Regions from separate parts of the Homo sapiens genome. Here regions 1 and 2 are each linked to region 3. The links are contacts of gene promoters, found by promoter capture Hi-C in human tissues and cell types (Jung and others, 2019). All regions are on one chromosome and are shown on one strand. Each heading gives the region's core, a stretch centred on a gene start or on the middle of the fragment in contact. The rest is flanking DNA. Distances are from core to core; before and after follow the strand shown.

What was found. Contacts are between HindIII fragments. The study calls those that stand out against the background at their distance.
Region 1: the fragment with the promoter of POU6F1 here is called in contact with the fragment with the promoter of TMPRSS12 in region 3 in 3 of the 25 tissues and cell types used here (adrenal gland, aorta and small bowel).
Region 2: a fragment that was not itself captured here is called in contact with the fragment with the promoter of TMPRSS12 in region 3 in 3 of the 25 tissues and cell types used here (IMR-90 fibroblasts, lymphoblastoid cells and mesenchymal stem cells).

Annotation. Positions count from the first base shown.
Region 1 is chr12:51,215,256-51,220,007 of GRCh38, forward strand. POU6F1 (POU class 6 homeobox 1) reads right to left here and starts at 2,807. Exons shown (of 11, transcript NM_001330422.2): 1 at 2,387-2,807. RefSeq lists silencers at 1,981-2,240, 2,471-2,630, 2,831-2,980 and an enhancer at 3,131-3,190. The HindIII fragment of the contact is 30,817 bases long and covers 1-4,752 here.
Region 2 is chr12:51,283,054-51,287,889 of GRCh38, forward strand. BIN2 (bridging integrator 2) reads right to left here. Exons shown (of 13, transcript NM_016293.4): 12 at 1,663-1,734. Among named protein-coding and RNA genes, the nearest start is that of SMAGP, 15 kb to the left of the region's middle. The HindIII fragment of the contact is 4,435 bases long and covers 1-4,288 here.
Region 3 is chr12:50,840,711-50,845,422 of GRCh38, forward strand. It overlaps TMPRSS12 (transmembrane serine protease 12), which reads left to right and starts at 2,216. Exons shown (of 5, transcript NM_182559.3): 1 at 2,216-2,441; 2 at 3,132-3,327. The coding sequence starts at 2,255. It also overlaps the pseudogene RN7SL519P. The HindIII fragment of the contact is 10,446 bases long and covers 1-4,712 here.

The sequences.
Region 1 (4,752 bases), core at 1,557-4,056, 380 kb after region 3:
TTCAAAGACGTGGTACAGGCCGGGTGTGGTGGTTCACGTCTGTAATCCTAGCACTTTGGGAGGCCGAGGCGGGCGGATTACTTGAGGTCAGAAGTTCAAGACCAGCTTGGCCAACATGGTGAAACCCCGTCTCTACTGAAAATACAAAAATTAGCCAGGCATGGTGGTGTGCGCCTATAGTTCCAGCTAGTTGGGAGGCCGAGGTGGGAGAATTGCTTGAACCCGGGAGGTGGAGGTTGCAGTGAGACCAAGATCGCGCCACTGCACTCCAGACTGAGCGACAGAGTGAAACCCTGTCTCAAAAAAAAAAAAAAAAAAAAAAGAGAGATTTCCAAGGTGTAGTATTGGGTTCTGGAGAACCCAGACCACACTGGCCCCTTCCTAAAGCGCCCGTCTAATTTCTCATTCCAAGCCTTCCTCCTGTGGCCAGTTTCTCCTGCATCCCACTCTCTCTTCTGCCTCATGAACCCTCATTTTGACATGAGGGGTCAAAGGCAGGTTTAAAGGCAGAAGACCCAGCTTGAGTACTGCTTCTACTAGAGGTAATCCCTATAAGCCTCCGTTTCCTTATCCAAAATGGAACCAAATTATAGTAACCACCTCATGGGTTATTGTGAGGATTAAATTGATAATATTTATGGAAGGCACTTAAAACAGGGCCTAGCATGAAGCAAACACTATATATATGTTTGTTATTATCATTGCTATTATTTTGAACTGAAGTAAAGCATGCATATAAAAATGTTTTAAATTATAAAGCATTTTAAAAATGTAAAAGATGGCCAGGCACGGTGGCTCACGCCTGTAATCCCAGCACTTTGGGAGGCCAAGACGGTTGGATTGCCTGAGCTAAGGAGTTCGAGACCAGCCTGGGCAACACGGTGAAACCCCATCTCTACTAAGATACAAAAAAATCAGCTAGACTCTGTCTCAAAAAAAAGAAAATGTAAAAGATTACTCTGATAATTTTATGGTGAGTAAATCTTGGGGACAAGAATATGAGCTTATCCCAAGTTCCTTCAAAATGCAGAAAAACCTTACAGGAGCAAATTTTTTCTGAGTCACTTTTCTTAACTGCCAGCTAGTACTTCCAGGAACAAAACAGAATAAATGGCTACATACACACACACTGACACACAATCACTCTATGGTATTACCTTGTTAGTTTTAATGTTTAGCATCTACTTGTCCACCCCCAGAATAAAAACTCCATGATAGAAGTTTTGTCTGAATTGTTCAGAGCATGGCACTGAGTGGGTATTTTTGTTGAACTAATGAAGAAATGAAGTTCTACAGCAGATAAGCGGAGTACCAGGTCACAGAAGTATCACTTTGAGGACCAGGACTTGAATGAAAATGGAATATATGGAATTATTCCTCAGAAGGCCTCTGCCAGTCAATGGTGGCTGCCTTAGATTGCTAAATAAGGGGCATGGGACACATGTATATGAACAATTGAAGACCAGCCCTCTACTTTTGGAACAAGGAATTTGGGAAGGGCAGATGAGGTTAAAAATCTCTGCAAAGAGCCTCTTTTCTTTGGCCCAGGAATGCTTCCCGAACTCTTCTGATTTCCCCCTGCCCAGCCGCAGAGGCTATTCTGTGAAGGTTTTAGGCTTCCAGTCGGGCTGAGTGGGGTATTCTGCCGCGAAAGTGGAGGTTAGAGGGTATGCTGGGAGCTCCCTTGGCCTTGCCAGGTGAGCCTGCCCAGGGAGCCTGCATCGGGCCCATTATTATGACTATTTATTAATAATAATATCGATATTAAATATTTATGAAGTGCTCATGCTCTGCTAGAAGGTGGCCCTCCCATCACTGACCCACCCTTCCAGCAACGCCTGGGTCCCTACCCCCGGGTCCCACCGGTCGTCCCGGAGTTTGTTCATTCGGGAGAACCGTGACAGGTCACCCTGGCCGCCCCAGCTGGCCCTAACCGCCGGGAACCCAGGCGTCCGTGTTCTCCAGAGAGGCAAGGATCCGCTTCTGGTCGCCACTGGTTCTGTGTACAGAGCGTCCCCTGTGGTCCGCACCCCACAAGGGCTCCAGGGGCAGAAACGGGGAGGGGCCAGGTCGGGGTTCCCCACCGGGTCCACCTGGCGGCCGCCCCCTCCGCTCCAGGTCCAGAGCGGCCCGCGGGCGGGCGAGGGCGCGGCCCCCGGGTGTCTAGCCCCAGCTGGGCAACCGCGCGCTGTCCCGCTCCCGCAGCTCCCCGCCGCCCCGGCCCAGCATCCCGCCGCCCCGGCCCCGCGGCTTTTTTTCTCTTTATCATAAATATATAAATTATGCTAATTACGGGCATTGCATATTAACCAAACCCGAAACCTCCCCTGCCCGGCCCCCTCCCCCTCCGTGCAAACCCCTCCCCGCCCCGGACCCCGCTACTTACCGGAGCCCGAGCCCGAGCCGCCTTCGCCGCGGGTGTCTGGCGGCCACCGATTAGAGATTCATCTCACAGCCCGGGCCAGGGGGCCGGGGCCGGGGCCGGGGCCACGGCGGCCGCCGCCCGCAGACAAAGAAGCCAGTGCGGCTTGGCTGGGCTCGGCTCGGCCCGGGAGCTGGTCGGGACCCGCCGCCGCCCCCAGGCCCCCAGCCTGGGCTGGGCAGAGCCGAAGGGGGCTCCGCAGGCTAAGCCGGGCGGAGAGGGGACGGCCGGGAAGCGGGAAGGGGAAGCCGGGTGGGGGGGCGGTCAGGTATATATTTTTCTTCGTTCCCCCTTCCACGACCCCCCCCTTTTCCCTCCCCCCCTTTTTTCCCTCCTTCTGCTACTTGGATTTTTTTAGCTGCTGCGTCATGAGCATAATTTATGCAAAGAGCTTTGCCGCATGCTGCACCGCCCGCGCCAGCCGCCGGGGGCGGCGGGCTGGGAGGGCGGTCAGGGAAGGGAGGGGAGCACGGGAGCCAGGAGCGAGGGGTGGGGGTGGGGAGGGGACCCTCTGGCCCTGGCCGAGCGGGAGGTCCCGGAGGCTCTCTCCCGGGACAGGGATGGACGGTCAGTGGGTCTGGTTACTCAGCCCCTCCGAGGTGCCGCGGAGGTGGTTTCATTTCGGAAGGTGCCAGAGTAGGAGCTGGAGTCCGGACCCTCCATGCCACATGGCCTTCAGCTGAGGGTTGGGGCGGTGACTCCCGGCCACCGCCTTTCCTCTAGGTAGTCAACTGTCCTCAATGTTGAAAGTCAAGTTTATGTCTATCCCTCCCTCCCTAGAAAGGCGGGGGAACTCAGACATCGCTCAGCCAACGTGGAGAACCTCTGAACAGCTGTGCCCCAGCGCCAAAGCAGCGAAGGGTCCCAGGTCTCTCACCCGGTGGCGGCCGTGGGCTGTGTTGTCTAAAAGCAGATTTCCGGCCTTCTTGTCCAAGTAGACAAGGAAATGTGAACAGAAAGACAAAGTTCAGTGGAATGGTGAAAAACCTCTAGCAGCTTCTTAAGGTAGAGAGGGGACCAGAAAAGGGGTGGATGTGGGTGGCTGAGGGAAAGCAGATTGGAGAAGTGGTGGACAACTGAAAGAGGAAAAAGTTGGAAGACCAAAGTGGAAGCGTGGGAATGGAGAGAAGAACTGGGAAGGAAGGAGGCTCTGTAAATCCAGTGAATGTGGATCCCAATACTGAGGCCACCTGCTGTCATCCTAGGCTGTTCCCCCTCCCACCCTCTCCCGATATTTGGTGGTCTGAGGATAGCTAGAGGTAGATGGGTTAGAGGCAGTGTGAGAATGCAGTTGGAGGCCTCAGTCCTCCCCGGGACTGCTCCGTAAGGCCTCGTGGTGGAAGGGCATTGAATGGCCCGGCCTCGTCGTTAACCTGGCCAGTGGACTAGGCTGTTATCAGCTTGCTGTTTCCATCTGGAAGTGAGCAGGTACTGCTGGCGGCGGATTTATGAGTAACCAATGTATTAGGAGTCAGAATACTTAGGTTTTAGTCCCAACTCTTCCACTAGCCGTCCAGGCAAGTAATTTAACTTCTTCATTACTTATAAAACAAGGATAATATTTATAATGACATTTATAATGACTACTTCATAGGGTTAAGTTTGTGAGCCTGTATGTGAAAAAACTGAAAGCTGCAAGCTCTATACAACTGTAAGGTGTCATTCCTTGTACAATAGTTTGAACTCGTTTTAATGGCCCTGTGAAACTCTACTGCGTGGCTTGATATTACAGTTCTTGGGGTTTTTGTTTGGCCGGTAGTCCCTGTAGTTTCTCTCCCTGGACTGTGAATTCTTTGAGAGCACTGGTTGTGACTTACTCATGTTTGTATTTCCCACTACTCTTTATGTGAAGGAGGGGCTCAGTATTGCTGCTGAACTTTGTCACATGAAGGTTGAAACTTTTCATTTATGTCACTTGGTTTGGTGCTACACATAGATCAAAGGCTTTGGATAGCATGGATATCAGCGACAGTTTGAAGAAAGAAATATGGATGTGATCAGAGGAGTTCAGGGAGACATACATAAAAATGTTAATCACGGTTTTCTTTATGTTGTATACACTTCTGCATTGCTTAAATATTTGATGAGCATATATTACTTTTTGTTTCTGTGTTTATTGGGGCATAACATGTACACAGTATGTGTATACCTTGATAAATTTTTACATGTATATACATATGTACGTGTATGTATGTGTGTATACATATGTACGTGTATGTATGTGTGTATACATATGTACGTGTATGTATGTGTGTGTATACATATGTACGTGTATGTGTGTGTATACATATGTACGTGTATGTGTGTATACATATGTACGTGTATATGTG
Region 2 (4,836 bases), core at 821-3,320, 440 kb after region 3:
AGATCAGCCTGACCAACATGGTGAAACCCTGTCTCTACCAAAAATACAAAAATTAGCCAGGCATGGTGGCGCCACCGCCTGTAATCCCAGCTACTCAGGAGGCTGAGGCAGGAGAATCGCTTGAACCCAGGAGGCGGAGGTTGCAGTGAGCCGAGATTGCACCACTGTACACTGTACTCCAGCCTGGGCGACCGAGAGAGACTCCATCTCAAAAAAAAAAAAAAAAAAAAGTTCTGCTTATTTAAAAAAAACATTAACTGTAAAACAGCCTCAAGTAGATCCTTCAGGAAGAGGCGTTGTTATTACCAGAGATGACAGGTCCATTTGTGGTAGTGCCCTGAAGACCTTCTAGTGGGACAAAATGTAAAGGTAGAAGACAGTGATATGGGTGATCCTGACCGTAGGCCAATGTGTATGTTTGCGTGTTTTTATTTACTTGTTTATAGACGGTGTCTAGCTATGTTGCCCAGGTTGTATTTGAACTCGTGGGCTCAAGTGATCCTCCTGCCTCAGCCTCCTGCATCGCTGGAACTACTACAGGCACATGCCACAACACACCCAGCTCTGTGTCTTAGTTTTTAACAAAAAAAGTTTTAAAAAGAAACAGAAAAAATACAGAATAAAGCTTACAGAATAAGGATATAAAGAAAATATTTTTTGGCCGGGTGTGGTGGCTCCCGCCTGTAACCCCAGCACTTTGGGAGGCCAAGGCAGGTGCATCATCTGAGGTCGGGAGTTTGAGACCAGCCTGACCAACATGGAGAAACCCCGTCTCTACTAAAAGTACAAAATTAGCTGGGCGTGGTGGCGCATGCCTGTAATCCCAGCTACTCAGGAGGCTGAGGCAGGAGAATTGCTTGAACCCAGAGGCCAAGGCTGCGGTGAGCCGAGATCATGCCATTGCACTCCAACCTGGGCAACAAGAGTGAAACTCCGTCTCAAAAAAAAAAAAAAGAAAAGAAAAATATTTTTTAATGGTGTAGCCTAAGTGTACAGTGTTTATAGTCTATAGGAGTGTAAGTAATGTCCTAGGCCTTCACATTCACTCACCACTCACTCACTGACTCACCCAGAGAAGCTTCCACTCCTGCAAGCTCCACTCATGATAGTGCCCTATACAAGTGTATCACTTTTTATTTTCTATATGCTATTTTTACTGTACTTTTCTATGTTTAGATACACAAATATTAACCACTGTGTCACAGCTGCCTACAGAATTCAGTAAAGTAACATGCTGTATAGGTTTGCAGCCTAGAAGCAATAGGCTATACCATACAGCCACACATAATGACAAAATCGTCTAATAATGCATTTCTCAGAGCATATCCTTGTTGTTGAGCAACACATTACTGTATAATATGACCTTTTTGCATTTAAAAAAAATATCTTAACCTCTTTAACTCCTTTTTGAAATAATTTGAGATTTAATTAAATAAATACCTAGAAGATAGGGCCAGTTTAAGGTCAAGTATAGGAAAATGGGCACGGAGATACCACGAAGTCCCAGTTCATTCTTGTTTCCTCTGATTCCCACCTGCTTGACTGCCCTAAGGGTATGGTTCACTGCCGGATTCCCCTTGTAGCCTGTGGTGAAGATTCCAGCCTTTTCCCAAACCCCTGTCAATCTAATGCCCAATCTATTCTCTGTATATCTGGTCTTACCTCTTCTTGAGGTTCAGGTGCTGTGAGGTTGTTGTTTTCTGGTACCATGGAGACTTGAAGCTGGTCTTGGCCCTACAAAGAGAAGAGTTCTGCCAGTAAGAGGTGGCTCAACCTTTCCAGCCTCTCAGCATAGAAGTGTCTTCTGTGCCTTATACTTTACAAGGGTCTCAGTATTTGTACTATTACAAAGGGCAAAATACAGTGTTGTTTCACCAGAGCCTGAAGGCATCGGGAAAGGCTTTCATCCATCCTCTTTTACAGATGAATAAACTAAGATTCAAAGGGTAAAAAGACTTGCTGGGACAGGAAACCAGGTCTTTGAATTCCTGAGTTGTTTCCATGATCAAACACCATGTAATCTGTGTGACATGGTGTGGATGTGTATCTATAAGGGAGTGCGAGGTCTTAAAATTACTACCTGCCACTTTTAGATGAACCGTCCTCAAGAATGTACTGCAACTCTCACACTTAAGTGATCCTAATTCATGACACGCAGTTAGGAGAAGCAAGTGGTAAAATAATTTCTTTGGGAAAAATTTTAGGTTCTGAGATGGGAACCCAAGGTGTAGGAAGCCCAGTCTAGACCACGTGCAGGGGTGCACACCTGTAGTCCCAGCTCCTTGAGAGGCTGAGGCAGGAGGATCACTTGAGGCCAGGAGTATCAAGGTTGCAGTGCACTATGATTGCACCTGTGAATACCCACTGCACTCCAGCCTGGGCAACATAGTGAGATCATCTCTAAAAATATAAATTTTAAAAAAAAGAAAGAAAGCCCTGCCTAGAAACTGCTATGCTAGGGGAAGACCCTGTGAGGTTTAAAATAAGTTTTTAAAACATGAAATTTAATTTACAAACTATAAATTCATATTTTAAAAACAGAACCAATTTCTTTTTAATTTTTTCTTTCTTTCTTTTTTTTTTTTTTTGAGAAGGAATCTGGCTCTGTCACCCAGGCTGGAGTGCAGTGGCGTGATCTTGGTTCACTGCAACCTCCACCTCCCAGGTTCAAGCGATTCTCCTGCCTCAGTCTCCCAAGTAGCTGGGATTACAGGCGCCCACCACCATGCCTGACTTTTAGTAGAGATGAGGCTTCACTATGTTAGCAAGGCTGGTCTCAACCTCCCAACCTCAAGTGATCCACTCCCCTCAGCCTCCCAAAGTGTTGGGATTACAGGTGTGAGCCATGGCACCTGGCCAACAGAACCAATTTCTAACAGTGTGATAGCCACTTGAAATTCCAAGATTTCTCCTTCAAGGACATTTTCTTTCTTTTTACTCCCTCCTCCCTTTCCAGGTCATGAATTAGCTCAGAGGTGATGTTACATCACCTCCCGGAAAGTTATCAAAACCTTCCATCTCTCTGAGATGATTCAAATGGTAAGCAAGAACAGATTTTTTCCCAGTAATTTTTTTTCAAAAATGGCTATGTTTTTTCCCAGTTATATTTATATTTACCCATTTTTACATGTGACATGTCCATAATTCTGCCTGAGAGAAAATATGATTTATAATGCATCTGCAAGGGAAGTGAGCATACACAGGCTTCAGAGGATTGATGACACGAATAGGCTAGGATCTAAGATGCTCTAGTTGCTTAATTCTACAGGAAAAATATTTCTCCTTAGCTGATGACCAAAGCAATCCCACCAGAGAGGCTAAGAGTAAGGAAATATTATAAATCTAAAATATAAGGAGACAGACTCAGGCGGAAGGAGAGTGTATCCTGTACCTCTTTTCCAGGGAGGACAGTGTTACTAGCCTGTTTCTTAAAATGGTCAGAAAGAGTCTTGGCTCCTATAAACTCCTCCCTTCAAAAAGATGACTCCAAGAATGCAAGCTTGTTTTATCATTCCCCAGAGGCAATCAAAAAGTCACTCTATTACTGTCTCCATCTAAAATCATATAATACATTATAAAATCAAATTGAAATCAATTCAACCATTGAGTTGCTCTTTTCAGTGCAGAAAAATGAGAAGTGGCTATGCTTACCTACTCAAAACCCCGCATCTATCCTGCACTTATTCACTCTCCACATGTCCTGCCTATCTCTCTCCATCAGCACAGCTGCCTCAGACTAGAAACTGACCAAGGAAAAGTCATTTTTATTATTTAAAAAATCTTTTTTTGAGATGGGGTCTCACTCTGTTGCCCAGGCTGGAGTGCAGTGGCGTGATCATGGCTCACTGTACCCTTGACCTCCCTGGGCTCAGGTGATCCCACCTCAGCTTCCCAAGTAGCTGGGGCCACAGGCATGTGACACTACGCCTGGCTAATTTTTGTATTTTTTGTAGAGATGGGTTTTTCCTATGTTGCCCAGGCTGATCTTAGACTCCTGGGGTCAAGTGATCCACCTGCCTCAGCCCCCAACAAAGTGCTAGGATTACAGCCACCTTGGGAGGTTGAGGCACTGCACCCAAATCTTTTTATTAAATTTTTTTTAAAGAGATGGGATCTCACTATGTTGCCCAAGCTGGAGTGCAGTGGCTATTCACAGGTGTGATCGTAGCATACTACAGTGTCGAACACCTGGGCTCAAGTGATCCTCCCGCCTCAGCATCCTGAGTAGCTGGGATTACAGGCTTGCATCAGTGAGCCTGACTTAAGGAAAAGTTGTTTTTTTTTGTTTTTTTTTTTGAGACAGAGTTTCACTCTTGTTGCCCAGGCTGGAATGCGATGGCGAGATCTCGGCTCACTGCAACCTCCGCCTTCTGGGTTCAAGCAATTCTCCTGCCTCAGCCTCCTCAGTAGCTGGGATTTCAGGCACATGCCACCATGCCCGGCTAATTTTTGTATTTTTAGTAGAAATGGGGTTTCACCATGTTGACCAGGCTGGTCTCAAACTCTCGAACTCCTGACCTCAGGTGATCCGCCCACCTCGGCCTCCCAAACTGCTGGGATTACAGGCGTAAGCCACTGCACCCGGCCTAGGAAAAGTTTTTTTTTTTTTTCTTTTTGAGACGGAGTCTCGCTCTGTCACCCAGGCTGGAGTGCAGTGGCGCAATCTCGGCTCACTGCAAGCTCCACCTCCCGGGTTCATGCCATTCTCCTGCCTCAGCCTCCCGAGTAGCTGGGAATACAGGCACCCGCCACCACACCCGGCTAATTTTTTGTATTTTTAGTAGAGACGGGGTTTCACCGTGTTAGCCAGGATGATCTCGATCTCCTGACCTGGGA
Region 3 (4,712 bases), core at 966-3,465:
TAATTGTAAACAACTTCTTGGGTGAAATTTTGCTATAGAGGAAAGTAGGGGATATAAAGTCAATTGAAGATTTTTCTAAGGTGGGAGAAACCAGATGTATTATCTGTTGCTGCGTAACAAATTATCCCAAAATGCAGTAGCTTAGAACAACAAAAATTTATCTCGTATTTTCTGTGGGTCAGAACTTTTAAGTGTAGTTTGGCTGGGTGTCTCTGACTTAAGGTCTCTCATGAGGTTGCAGTTAGGGTGTCAGCCAGCACTGTGGTCTCATCTGAAGGTGTGATCGGGGAAGATCTGCCTCTAAGCAGATCATGCGGTGTTGCATGATTCAGCTTTTCGTGGCTGTTCAACTGAGGACTTCAGTTCCTCAATGGCTCTTGCTGGCAGCCTCTCTACAGGGCCACAGGGCAGCTTACAACATGGCAGCAGCTTTACCTTAGAGCAACAGGACTGCAGAGAGTGCTCAGGACAGAAGTCACAATCTTTTTATAACCTAATCTTGAAAGTGGTAGCCCATCACCTCTACTTTCTATTTACTAGAAGTGAGTCACGAAATCCAGCCAACACTAAAGGAGAGGGAACTGACTAAGGCTGTGAATACCAGGAGACAGGGTTCATTGGCGGGCATTTTGTAGGCTACCTACCATACCAGAGGATATTTGTCTGCAGATAGGAGTGATCCCACCAAAGACAGGAAATGACAATGCAGGAGAGGAGAAAAGGCAGAGGAAATCCAGGAAGAAGACCTCTGCAGTTATTGATCCACTGCCTTTTTCATTTTATTTGGAGAGATGGGGTCTTGCTTTGTTGCCCAGGCTGGAGTACTGTGGCTATTCACAGGCATGATCTCACTACCAATCAACACAGGAATTTTGATCAACTCCATTTCCAGTCTGGGCCAGTTACCCCTCCTTAGGCAACCTGGTGGTTCCCCACTACCCGAAGGTCACCATATTGATGCCAAACTTAGTTGACCAGTTGACATAGCATACTACAGTCCAGAACTCCTGGGCTCAAGCAATCCTCCTGCCTCAGCCTCCTGAGTAGTAAAACTAAAAAATATATTGTTTAAAGCAGTGCTGTATAATAGAACTACAGGCATGTGCCACCGTGCCCAGCCCACTGCCTGTGTCACTGCTATTTGATGACTTGGCTGCATATACTTGCTTTATGAGTATGTTAAACCTCTACTATCTGTCATAGCAAGACCCGTCATCCTTATCACGTTGGCTATGGGTTTAAAAAAAGAAAAAAAAAGTCATCTTGCCTTGTTTACAAAGGCATACACAATCTGACCACATCTCACACACACAGAAATACACACACCCCAACTGTGTTTTTCTCCTCCTAATATCACCTTCCACTAAAATATCTGGGGAATAAGGACTTTGTTTCTTGTCAGCCCTCAGAGATCAGCTCATGCTGCAATTTGTTTCTCCAATATCACCTCCTCCACCCCAATTTCGGCACAGCTCTGAGACTCTGCTCCCTTCCCCACATGTTACCATGTGTAAGCCCCAAACTCATATACTCCTTTTATCTAATGCTGCCAACTGCACCAGCCTCGGAAGGATGGTATGAGCAAGGCAACTGTCCTTTTATTGACCTCTACGTTAACTCTCCACCACCTCACCAACTTCCCACAGCCCACACGGTCTTCTTATTACTGAAGGTGTTGGGTTAACAAAGGCAAAGTTCAGTATAGGTCAAGATAGGAATGACAGAACAATTTAAAACTGAACATTAGGTATCACTCTTAAAAACTCTGGGTTATGTTAAAGAAAAATTATTCAGTGATACTCATTAAAGCACAGCAAGGCAGACTTTATTCAGGACCATCCAGATAGGGATAGGGACCATGGCAATGGGATTTTGTAATGGGTAGAGGGACTGGGCTAAAATCCAAACAGAGCAGAGCCAAGGGAGAATTTACAGCCACGGAGCAGGAGAGACGTGTCAGTGGATGGAAAATTACTAAGAGGTAGCATCAGGAGTAATGGCATTCCGGCTAACCGACCTAACAGGATTCTTGCTGGACAGGCCAGGGTGATCAGACATCACCTGGGGGATAGTGGTGGATGAGGAAGCCGATCAGACCTTGAGGGTGAGGGGTTCTTTCTAAACTGACCTACCTATTCCTCGGCCGCCTCCCACACCTCCGGGCCTCACTCGCGCCTCCCCGCCAGGCCGTGCGCCCCGCGTGCCCAGGGCGGGTGGGAAGTACCTGCCGCCATCTTGCTCACCAGCCTCCAAAATGCGGCTGGGGCTCCTGAGCGTGGCGCTGTTGTTTGTGGGGAGCTCTCACTTATACTCAGACCACTACTCGCCCTCTGGAAGGCACAGGCTCGGCCCCTCGCCGGAACCGGCGGCTAGTTCCCAGCAGGCTGAGGCCGTCCGCAAGAGGCTCCGGCGGCGGAGGGAGGGAGGGGCGCATGCAGAGGGCAGTACCTGTTCGTGCCTGTCTCTGGGGAGCCTCTCTTACCTTTTCCCCACCGCTATAGTCTTTGAATTCGGGTTTCTCCTTTTCTGTTGTCCCAATGGCCTTTAACCAAAATTTTACATACCTAAGCAGTTTCTAGACCGGCTGTAATAACAGTAGTTGTAATAGTGAAATGACACATTTGTATTGTGAATCTGTATTTTCTCCTCAAAACATTCTGGGTTTTATCATCCCCATTTTATAGATTAATAAGTCAGGGGATAAAGAGTTGAAAGGGAGGGCTATTAGGTGACCATTTCATACTATAGTTGAGAAAAATTAGCCCAACAAGTGAAATGGTGAGCATTAGAATTTGCGGCTCTCGACTCACCGTTCCCAGGCTCTTTAACTGCTATTTCACACAGGGAAGAATGTGATACGTGGCCAAAAATTTTTATTTTTATATTTTTGGGGAATAGAGTTTTAAAATTAATGAATTGTGTTGACTTCATGTCTATTTGTAAGTAATCGATTATGGCATATTTGTCTTAACTCTCCAAGTTTCTTTCAAAATATGGGCGTGTCTCCGGTATGTTAGCTTGCTTTGTGTTTTTAACATAGGAATTTAAAGGATTGCATTAATATGTTCAGCTTAGGAAGTAACACATACTATAGATGCTCAGTCCAAATAATATATCATTTTTATTTTTAGATTGTGGAACAGCACCGCTTAAGGATGTGTTGCAAGGGTCTCGGATTATAGGGGGCACCGAAGCACAAGCTGGCGCATGGCCGTGGGTGGTGAGCCTGCAGATTAAATATGGCCGTGTTCTTGTTCATGTATGTGGGGGAACCCTAGTGAGAGAGAGGTGGGTCCTCACAGCTGCCCACTGCACTAAAGACGCTAGGTACGTATTCAGAACACAACTATTTTTATGCTCTTAGGGGATATTTTGAAGTGATAGAGGACCATTTAACTTCAGCCATTTTCAGCTAAGCTATGTTTGCAAATAGCCATAATGCCTTATATATAGTACAGTGTATTTGTTGAAAGGAATCCTTTATTTATTATTATTATTATTATACTTTAAGTTCTGGGGTACATGTGCAGAACGTGCAGGTTTGTTACATAGGTATACATGTCCATGGTGGTTTGCTGCACCCATCAACCCATCATCTAACTACATTAGGTATTTCTCTTAATGCTATCCCTCCCCTAGCCCCCTACCCAGGAATCCTTTATTTTTTACTTTTTTTTTTTTGAAATGGAGTGTCACTCTGTTACCCAGGCTGGAGTGCAGTGGTGCAATCTTGGCTCACTGCAACCTCCGCCTCCTGGGTTCATGCGATTCTTCTGCCTCAGCCCCCGGAGTAGCTGGAATTACAGATGCCTGCCATCATGTCCAGCTAATTTTTGTATTTTTAGTAGAAAAGGGGGTTTCACCATGTTGGCCAGGCTGGTCTTGAACTCTTAACCTCACGTGATCTGCCCGCCTCAGCCTCCCAAAGTTCTGGGATTACAGGTGTAAGCCACCATGCTCGATCATGGATCTTTTAAATTAGAGGCTGGTAAACTTCCTATAAAGGTAGTAAATATTTTACACTTTGAAGGTCATATGGTCTCTCTCACAATTGCATGAAAACCAGCACTGAAAATAAGTAATTGAATGAGTGTGGCTATAATCCAATAAAACTTTATGAACACTGAAATCTGAATTTCATATGTTTAACGTGTCATGAAATATTGTGGTTGATTCAGCCATTTAAAAATGTAGAGTAGGGCATGTTGGCTCATATTTGTTATCCCAATGCTTTGGGAAGCCAAGACGGGAGGATCACTTGAGGCCAGGAGTTTGAGACCAGCCTGGGAAATATAGCGAGACCCTGTCTCTATATTTAAAAAAATTGTTAATGTAAAAAACATGCTTTATGGACTGTATGAAAACAAGAGACATGCCAGATTTGGCCTTCACTATTAGACTCTTTGAAAAAGAGACTCTCTTTGCTTCATCTCCATTGACCCATAAAATCCAACTGCAGTCTGATTTTTGTGGCCAAATGCTGTTAAAGATCCACTTCCATGCCAAATCCAATGACTTCATCTCAGTTCCCATCCTTTTTGACCTCTACAGCCTTTGGCAATGTTGACCACATTCTCTTCTTGAAATTATCTCTTTTCTTGATTTCTAAGACACCATTCTCTACTTTTTTCTCCTGCTTCTTTGATGAGTCTTTGTCATCCTTTACATTGCAGTGTTTTCTAGAGTTTGCCCTCTGCCCTCTGTCATTCTGT